Regions from separate parts of the Homo sapiens genome. Here region 2 is linked to region 1. The links are contacts of gene promoters, found by promoter capture Hi-C in blood cells and fetal thymus (Javierre and others, 2016). All regions are on one chromosome and are shown on one strand. Each heading gives the region's core, a stretch centred on a gene start or on the middle of the fragment in contact. The rest is flanking DNA. Distances are from core to core; before and after follow the strand shown. Region 1 holds the start of ZNF420 (zinc finger protein 420). Region 2 overlaps ZNF805 (zinc finger protein 805).

The links. Contacts are between HindIII fragments. The CHiCAGO score rates a contact against its expected background, and 5 or more counts as called.
Region 2: a contact is called between a fragment that was not itself captured here and the fragment with the promoter of ZNF420 in region 1, in 1 of 17 cell types (total CD4 T cells). The highest score is 6.0, in total CD4 T cells.

Annotation. Positions count from the first base shown.
Region 1 is chr19:37,075,836-37,080,965 of GRCh38, reverse strand. ZNF420 (zinc finger protein 420) reads right to left here and starts at 2,533. Exons shown (of 5, transcript NM_144689.5): 1 at 2,396-2,533; 2 at 578-621. It overlaps LOC105372390 (a long non-coding RNA gene), which reads left to right and starts at 2,769. Exons shown (of 2, transcript XR_001754095.2): 1 at 2,769-2,868; 2 at 4,661-5,130. RefSeq lists an enhancer at 2,458-2,697 and a silencer at 2,788-3,077. The HindIII fragment of the contact is 14,557 bases long and covers 1-5,130 here.
Region 2 is chr19:57,252,774-57,257,903 of GRCh38, reverse strand. It overlaps ZNF805 (zinc finger protein 805), which reads right to left. Exons shown (of 4, transcript NM_001023563.4): 4 at 1-4,831. The coding sequence ends at 3,201. Among named protein-coding and RNA genes, the nearest start is that of ZNF805, 15 kb to the right of the region's middle. The HindIII fragment of the contact is 668 bases long and covers 984-1,651 here.

The sequences.
Region 1 (5,130 bases), core at 1,284-3,783:
CCTGCCTCAGTCTCCCGAGTAGCTGGGACTATGTGCATCCACCACCACGCCCAACTAATTTTTTTTTTTTAATTTTTAGTACAGACGGGGTTTCACCTTTTTCCAGGATGGTTTCGATCTCCTAACCTCGTTCCATCCGCCTCGGCCTCCCAAAGTGCTGGGATTATAGGCATGAGCCACCACACCTGGCCGTGATCGTTTTTAAGCTAGGCATATTCATTATACTTTTGTGTACATTTGAAACTTTCCATAACAAGCTAAAAAAAGTTAAAAAATCAAAATGGTGCTGTATCAGAAATAACACAATAGAGCTCTTTCCCTTTTTAAATAACACAATAGAGCTATTTCTCTCTTCCCCTTTTTAAATCCATGAGTCTCAAATCCATTCTTCGTAAATTTAACCACTATTGGGGAAGCATCTATCCCGATTAATGGCACATTTTCTTTGCTCTCAATCTACCAAAAATTGCCTTGCCCCTCTATCATTTGAGAAGGCAAGAAATTTCAAAAAGAAAACAAAAATGTCTATGTCCTGTAATAACAAAGGTATTTCAGGAAACAAAGAGGAAATACTCACCTTGGACATTGCTACTGAAACAGCCATTCTTTCTCCTCTGGGCTCTACTCTCAGAAAAAGAAAAATGGAATGAGATATTAGGCCTTTCTTGGGGAATATGCTAAATTATAACATACCCTCTTCCTCCATCCTCTTAATCTCATTTAACATAAAGAAAAGTCAGGAGGAGACTAGAATAAGTCTTCTACCTTCTGTATCAGAAAGAAGGGCCAGGTCACAGCTGTCTTGGGCTTGAATTTATTTCTGTATTCAAAGCTGTACACTGGAGACAGTCCTGCAGTGGGGTGCTTCAGGTTCAGAACTGGGTGGCTGTCTCCTAAAGCACTCCCTCTGAAACTATTCCCACTCCTGGAGTCCCATTATATTTCCAGTGGCCTATTTATTTATTTATTTAGAGAATGAGTTTCACTCTTGTTGCCCAGGCTGGAGTGCAGTGGCTTGATCTTGGCTCACTGCAACCTCCGCCTCCCGGGTTCAAGCAATTCTCCTGCCTCAGCCTCCTAAGTAGCTGGGATTACAGGCATGCGCCACCACGCCCAGCTAATTTTGTATTTTTAGTAGAGGTCATGGTGAAACCATGACCTCAGGTAATCCACCCGCCTCTGCCTCCCAAAGCGCTGGGATTACAGATGTGAGCCACCGCGCACAGCATCCAGTGGCTGTCTTGAAGGTATTATCAGCCCTAAAATTCTCATCCTAAGACCAGGTCTGTAACTTGCAAATAACTCCTATTCATCACTCAGGTGTCCAAATGTCTGACTTCCTTACTTCTTGCCACTTCCCTGCACCCAATCCCCTTAAGGCTATAAGGCAAGAGGACGCAGGGAAGAAGTCGTGAACTCGTAAGTAACTACATTTCCCAAGGTGAACCGAGGATGGATACAGAAATGAAGCAATACAGGCCATGGATGAAAGGGCAGCCACTGTGGTCAAATCAAAAAGTCCTTAAGTCCTCAGAGCCACATGGGAGGAGCACAGAGCCACATGGGACTCACAATCCATAGGCAGACCTCAGCCCCAAATGAACCCCAGAAATACCAAAAAGAAATTTACTTCTGTACTGGACTAAACCCCCATAAGGTCACAGAATATACAAATGGCCACATAAAGTCACACATAATCACATTTCCACAGTTACACAGCTAGAGGCACAATCACCCAATTATGCTACATTGTTAGACCACCTTGTCTCAAACAAAATCCCATTAAGTACAAGGCATATAATTACATCCAAGCACCTTGTCAGAGACACATACCGCCAAAAACACCCTTTCAAAGCTGCAATTTTAGTCTCTTTACACAGTCATGAAAACAGCACACACAACCCCACAGTCACACACAATCAGACAGTCACCCAACCCAGTACGAAATCAGGGAAACACGCGGTAATAAACACCGTGTCACAGCAACACTGTCACACACCTTAAATTTACTGGCAAATCCATCCCACGATATCAGGTTTACACACAACCTCAAAGTGACACAAGAACATCCAAACACTCTTGTCACAACTGTCACACACTTCATAGTCACAGGCAAACCCCAATTATACACGCGGCACACATAAAATCACAGTCACATAAGTATATCCCAGCCAGGTAAGCAAACAGTCACAAACACCCTCAGAGTCACAACTCACACTCATACAAATGCTCATACACAAAACCACAGCCACACACGTCCAGTCGTGTATGCACAGGCAGTCGCCAATACCAGGCAGGCTGTAGCCTGCACACAAAACCGGAGACACGGCCACACGAGTAACCCCAGCGACGCTTTCTCCGCGCGTGTCCGCTCCGGCATCCCGGACACTCCTACCTTGACAGAGGTGCAGTTCAGGGTCCAAGATCTGGCTCCCGGGTTCCAAGCCCAATTTCGGGTTCGCCAGCCCAGCAGGTGCGGAGCCAAGCTCCTCCACAGACGCGGCCCTCTCCCCACGCGAGGCCTCCAAATCTCGCAAACTAACGGAAATGAAGCTACGCTCCGGGAGCGGTGCCTCTGGGAAATGTAGTCCAGCGCTCCGGACGCCGTGCCTCTGGGAAATGTAGTCCAGCGCTTGGCTAGCCGGCCAGAACGCCAGGAGGCCCGGGCCGCTCACCCCTCGAGGGGCTCGTGGGCTCGGCCTGTGGAACCTGCTTGTCCCGCCTGCAGCGCCCCGGAGGTTTCTGGGAGTGCCCGCCCGCCCGCGCTCAGTGCGCAGGCGTCAGACGCTCAGGGCCTGCGAGAGCGAGCTGAGTGGTCCCAGGGTCTACCCCTGGCAGGAGAGAGGGTGGGACCCGCCGGCCAGGCAGGTGCGGGGGAGGAGCTGGGGCCGGTGCGGGGACCCGCCGGAACCTCGGATTTGCAGAGGACCCTGTGTGTGCCCTCCCAGGCCCTTGGGGTGTGTGTGACAATGGGAGATGCCAGGTGGACTGAGAGTCTTTCCGTGGCCGGGTGTGTATGGTTGTGTTTCTGCCTGTGTGTGATTCTTCCTGCTGTGGGGTGTGAGGTGATTTGTACTTTAAGCTGCGTAGTAATGGGATTTTATAACTGTGTAGAATCGTCTAACAGAGTAAGACGATTTTACACAGATCTCTATTGTGGTTTGCTTATGAAGGGTATCTGTATGTATATCTGCTTTTTTGTGTGTGGCCGTAATTGAGTAACTGGTGATCTGTGTTATATAAACGTGCTTTCTTTGTGCTTGTATTTCAGTGTCTGTAAGGGTGCCAAGAGCAAATGAGCTGTGTGTGATCGTGTGTGACAGTGAAAATACTATGGCCAAGTTATTTCTTCCTTAAATAGTAATGTAATAATCTGGAAAAGATAATCAATTTATCTGACAAGTAATTTAGACATCATTTTTCTATTGGATCAAATATATGTGTTATCGGGAAGAATCCAAAATTAACGTAGTTTTTTCTTTGTTTTTAGAAAGATTATTTCAAAACCAGTCCTAGGGTAACTGCCTTTTCCTCTGCCACAGCAGGCCAAAAGTAGATATCCATTATTTTCTAATTAGAGGGTAAAGTTTCTCTTATTACTGGGTACGGTTGAGAGGCCATCAACTAATAAAATAATAAAACAACGTTATACATAAGAAGAGTGAATTTTAGCACAGTACAGCACTAGTCAGATTTCCCAAATTCTAGGTCAAACACTTGTCCTCATTTTCTGATGAGAAAACCTTGGCCGGCAGAAAGTAACTTAAGGCTGTAGAGTTTGTTGGTAAACCTGAACTTATTTTTACTTACTTCAAGACCTCTTGGCCTTTTATGATTTTTGAATAATCAAAAACTTGTGAACTTCCAGCACAGAGAAGATAGAGTATAATTTCACCACTCCTTCAGAGGGAAAAAAATTAATAAAACTTGGTCTTGCAAGACCATATATCAAATACATTGATCTCTTACCGGTAATGTGACTGGAATAGCAAATTTGGTGATCAGAATTCTTGAGGGAATGAACCTGTGTGTGTGATCAGGCATAGCTATGTGAAATATAGATAATTAAATTGCACTGAGTTAGAGTGGGTCAAAGTCAGGCAAGAATTATGTCCAATTCACATGCACACGTATGTTTATTGCGGCACTATTCACGATAGCAAAGACTTGGAACCAACCCAAATGTCCATCAATGATAGACTGGATTAAGAAAATGTGGCACATATACATCATGGAATACTATGCAGCCATAAAAAAGGATGAGTTCATGTCCTTTATAGGGACATGGATAAAGCTGGAAACCATCATTCTTAGCAAACTATCGCAAGGACAGAAAACCAAACACCACATGTTCTCACTCATAGGTGGGAATTGAACAATGAGAACACTTGGACACAGGGTAAGGAACATCACACACTGGGGCCTGTCAGGGAGTGGGGGTAGGGGGAGGGGTAGCATTAGGAGATATATCTAATGTAAATGATGAGTTAACAGGTGCAGCACACCAACATGGCACATGTATACATATGTAACAAACCTGCACGTTGTGCACATGTACCCTAGAACTTAAAGTATAATAAATAAATAAAAATAAAAATAAAAAAGAATTATGTCCAATTATATATGGGAGATATATACTGGGTTTTGTTTTTTTTTTTAGGAGGTGACAGACACATTCTGGTTTCAAATTGAACAGCATGCATTGATCTTGAGCCGCATCTGTGTGATTCTGGGTCACTACTTTTGGCTTTTGAATAGTTACGATGAGTGCTTGCAAGAAAAAGGAAGCTATCACTTAAAAGTAAAAAACAGTTGTTCACCTGAGATGAATAGATTCCATGTGGATGGGCTTCTTGTATATTAAACTTATGACATTTTATATGTGTTGATATGTGATTTTTTTAAAAAAAGTATAGGCAGCTTTTCAGATTCACAAAGAGGTACTTTAAGCTAAAAAAGGTTAAGACCATCAGAAACGTAGACTGCAGGAACTGAGAAGGATTTGTTAGAATACTATGTGATATAATTAGTATAAAAATAGTATATATTTTATAGAGGGATACACACAAAACTCCTGCTAATGGTAACCTTTAGGGAGAGAAGAGAGGATTTAGGGTAAAGGGGGAGAAG
Region 2 (5,130 bases), core at 68-2,567, about 20 Mb before region 1:
AAACTCCATCTCTACTAAAAATACAAAAAATCAGTCAGGCATGGTGGCGGATGCCTGTAATCCCAGCTACTCAAGAGCCTGAGGCAGGAGAATCACTTGAACCCAGGAGGCGGAGGTTGCAGTGAGCGGAGATCGCACCACTCCACTCCAGCCTGGGCAACAAGAACAAAACTCCGTCTCAAAAAAAAAAAAAAAAAAAAAAAAAGATACGCAAACTGGATATAAAACCACAGCCCAAATATACGCCATTCACAAGAAACTTACTCCCAATATAGTGATATAGATAAGGTTTAAAAAAATGATGAAGTGTAAATCATGCAAGCATTAACCAAAACGTAAGACTGACCACACAAATATCAGATAAAAATTGATAAGAGTATTAACAGGAACAAAAAGGGACATTACTTAATTATAAAAGGGTCAATACACCAAGAATACTAAGCAAACCTACATGTGTATATACCAAACAACAGAGCTTTAAATTATGTGGAGCAAAAACTGATAGAACTTAAAGGAGGAATAGGTAATTCCACAATTATAGCTCAGGACTTCAACATCCTTCTCTTGGCAATTGATAGAAATACTAGACAGAAAATCAGCAAGGATACAGGAGACCTAAATAACACCACCAACTAACAGGATCATACAAACTTTTACAGAAACTCCACCAAATGACCGAGAACACACATTCTTTTCAAGCAGCTATGTAAAACAAGACAGCCTATATCCTGGGTCATAAGGAAAAAAAGTCAACAAATTTCAACAGTAACATCAAATGCAAAACAAATTAGAAATCAATAACAAATAGCAGGGAATACTCCAAACACTATTAAACAATATACTTCTAAATAATTCCTGGGTTAGAGAAGATGTCTCAAAAGGAATCAGGCAATCTTAGAACTGAGTAAGATAATCAAAAGCATATTAAGACTTGTGGGATGAAACTAACAGCAGTGTAAGAAAAATGTATAGAACTTAAAGCTTATATTAAAAAAGAAAAAAAGCCTCAAATCAATAACCTAAACATCCACGTCAGGAAACCACTGAGTCAAATACAACCAGAGCAAGTAGGAGAAAGGATACAATACACATCAGAGCAGATATCAGTGAAATTAAGAACAGAGACTGGAGAAAAATCAGTGATATAAAGTGCTATTTCTTTGAAATGATCAATGAAATTGACATATGTCTACAAAGACTGACAATAATAAGTGATACATTTCCAATATCAAGAATACAACAAGGAACATAAGTACAGATCCTGCTGCCATCAAGAGGATAAAAGGAAATATTTCAAAGAATGCTACAAATTAGAACATTTACATAAAATGAACACTTCCTTAAGAAAATCTATAAAAATTCATCCAATATGAAATACTCTGAATAGTTCTATACCTATTAAATAAAATAAATACATAATTAAAAAGCATTCAAAAGGAAAATCTCCAGGTCCCACTTCTTCACTGGAGAAAGCTACCAAACATTAAAGGAACAAATAACACCAATTCTACACATGATCTTCCAAAAAAACAGAAGAGAATTCCTTCCAATTCATGTTAGGAGGTTAGTTATCATCTAGACATCAAAACCAAACAGTAACAGTTGAAGAAAGAAAACTACAGATTATCACTCATGAAATCAGAGGAAAGCTTCCTCAACAAAATACTAGCAAATGAAATACTGTAGCATAGTACACAAACAAAATTATACTCCATGATCAAGTAGGGCTTATCACAAAGATGTGAGGCTGGTTCAATACTTGAAACTCAATCAAGGTAACACATCATATCAACTGACTATAGAAGTAACATCACATAATTAAATCAATTGGTGGAGAAAAAGCATATGACAAAATTCAACACTTATTAATAATAACCAAAAAAATCCCAGCAAATTAGGAATAGAGGGAAACTTTCTAAACTCGATAGAGAAACTCTTTGGAAGCAACTTTCAACATCATAATAATGAGAAACTGAACATTTCCCCCTAATATCAGGAACAAGGCATGGATAACTTGTCACTATTCGTATTCAACATCACACTGGAAATCCTACCTAGTACAATAACATGAGAAAAGCAAATAAAAGGTATACAGATGGGAAGCAAGAAATAAAACTGTCCCAAATTGCAAATGACATTTCTATATTTAAAATCCTAAGGATTCTCCCAAAAGAAATGGCAAGAAATAATGAGTTTAGGAAGGTTGCAAGACAGCAAAATAAGATTGAAAAAATAATGTTTCTGTATACTAGCCAACATCATGTGAATATTGAAACTTTAAATATCAATGCCATTTACAATCACTCAAAAAACTATGCAGCTATAATTCTTATTTTAAATGTGCAGGAGTTATACTGTGTAAACTATAAAACAGTAATGAAATATATCAAAGAAAATTTAAATAATGAAAAGATAGGCTATGTTCATGAATTGGAAGACTAAGATGCCAATTTCCAACACATTGATCTATAGATTTAACTCAATTTCTATCAAAATCCAAGCAAGAATATTTGAAAAACAGAAAAACCAATCCTAAAGTGTATATGGAAAGTCAAACTAGGAATGCTAAATGAATTTTAAATAAAAATAGTAAGAAAAAAGAAATCACATTACCTAATTTTGAGATTTACCATACAGCTATAGCAATCAAGTAAACCAACAGATGGGAATCAAGAAAAATTCTCAGTGTTAGTGTTTAAAACCCATTAAAAAAGAATTTTTTTAAAAAATCAAAGACCTAAACAGTATTAAGTGGTACAATAAAATGTGCGCATTCATGTTTCTTTTAATCCTTAAATATAAAAGTATTTCATAACTCAAGGCTTCATTATTTCTCATAAAAACAATGCTTCTTAAGAAGAGACAATGTTGTAGAACAAAGACATTGAGTAAGTTTCCAGACCTTCCCTTACTAACTTTCCTGACACAGGACAGAAATGTACATACAAGACAACAGTATAAAAGCAGTGTCTGCATTTCATTTTCTTTTCTATGTCACCTCTTTCTGTTTATAAAAATTCCTGAGATAACATTGCACTGTAAACTAATGAGAAAGATGGAGCTAAAGGTTTTCCCAAGTGCGTAATAACCACTGGGTGTTTTTCCAGGATGAATTCGGATGGAGAATAAGGCTCTAAGCTGCGTGATTTTCTAATATGACTCCTTAGGTGACAAATGACATTTGGCAACAGAAGGTTTTCTCACAGTGAAGACACTTGTGGGGTTTCTCTTTGGTATGTACGATCAGATGCCATGTAAGATGCTTCCTCTTGCAAAAGATTTTCCTCAGTGGTGACATTCAAAAAGTTTTTCCCCAATAAAAGTTCTTGGATGTTGACTGAGGTCTGCCCACTTGTAAAAGGTCTTCCCACATCTGTTACACTGATAGGATTTCTCCCAGTATGCATCCTTTGATGCTGAGTGAGGGACGAGCTGCGACTGAAGGCCTTTCCACATTCACTGCACTCATACGGCTTCTCTCCAGTGTGGATGATAGAGTGTCGAATGAGGTTTGTGCTCCAGCAAAATGTTTTCCCACACTCGATGCATTCATAGGGCTTCTCTCCACTATGAATCCGCTGGTGCCTTGTGAGGCCTGACCTGCGGTTGAAGGCCTTTCCACACTCCATGCACTCATAGGGCTTCTCTCCAGTGTGGATGCTGAAGTGGCGAATGAGGTCTGCCCTATTGCTAAAGGCTTTCCCACACTCTTTGCACTCGAAAGGTTTTTCTCCAGTGTGGGCCCTTTTATGCAAGATGAAAGTAGAGCAGTGGGTGAAGGCCTTTCCGCATTCACTACACACATATGGCTTCTCCCCAGTGTGAATCCGCTGGTGCCTTTTGAGGTAGGATCGGTGGTTGAAAGCCTTCCCACACTCGAGGCACTCAAAGGGCTTCTCTCCAGTGTGGATGACATAGTGGTGAATCAGCGCTGCGCTCTCACAGAAGGCCTTCCCACATTCACTGCACTCATAGGGCTTCTCCCCGGTATGAGTCTGCTGGTGCCACATGAGGTATGATCTGTGTTTGAAGACCTTGCCACATTCGAAGCACTCGTAGGGATTCTCACCACTGTGGATGATGTAGTGTCGAATGAAACCTGGCCTATCTCGAAAGGCTTTGCCACACTCTTTGCACACAAAGGGTTTTTCTCCAGTGTGGCTCCTGTTATGCAAGACAAAAGTGGAGCGGTGGGTGAAGGCCTTTCCACATTCACTGCACTTATAAGGCTTCTCTCCACTGTGAATCCGCTGGTGCTGGGTAAGGTGTGACTTCCGATTAAAAGCCTTCCCACACTCCATGCACTTATAGGGCTTCTCCCCAGTGTGGACCATGTGGTGCTGCAGGAGGTATGTACTCTTGCTAAAGGTTTTTCCACACTCTGTGCATTCATAGGGCTTCACTCCAGAGTGAATCCTCTCATGCCGAGCAAGCAGGCGTTTCTTGTTAAACACTTTTTCACATTCATTGCATTTAAAGATATTTTCCTCTTCCTGAATAACTGGATTTTTACCTGATCCATGTGAGTCACAGTCATGGACATCATCTCCTAAGGAGACTCGATCCTGTATAATCCTTGAACACACACTATCAGCTGTCCCTAAACCATCATGTTTGGGGCTCATTTTTCCAGGAAGCTTCTCCTTTTGGGAATCTAACCCTGGTCTCAAGCGTTCTCCCTGCATTTCTGAAAACCCATCCTGATCCTTGGGTTGCCCCAACTGGGAGTCCCCTGAAGCTCCTTGTGTTAGTTGTCCCCAAAAAGAGATTCCTTCAGACAAGGCTAGCTCACAGGTGGTAGGTTCTGTGCTCTTGGGTTTTCCTTTGTCACCTGAAAGAAATCCAACACACAGAAGGGCTTGTTAGTAATGTAAAAAGAGAAGAAACAAACTCACCACTTCAGTAAAAAAAATGAAGTTATAAATGGTGCCTTTATGTCTGTTATATTTTGCCATCTTGAACCCCAGATCTATAATTTGTTTCTTTTATTTTCCTTGGATTCCTGACTCCTTGAAAGGGAGACCAGGCAGAGAGACCAGGTGAGGGGACAGGGCCTAGAGTGGAGATATCGCTTCAATTCCAGACTAAATATTTATATAAAGGTAACTCATTATAGGTACCTAAATAGTT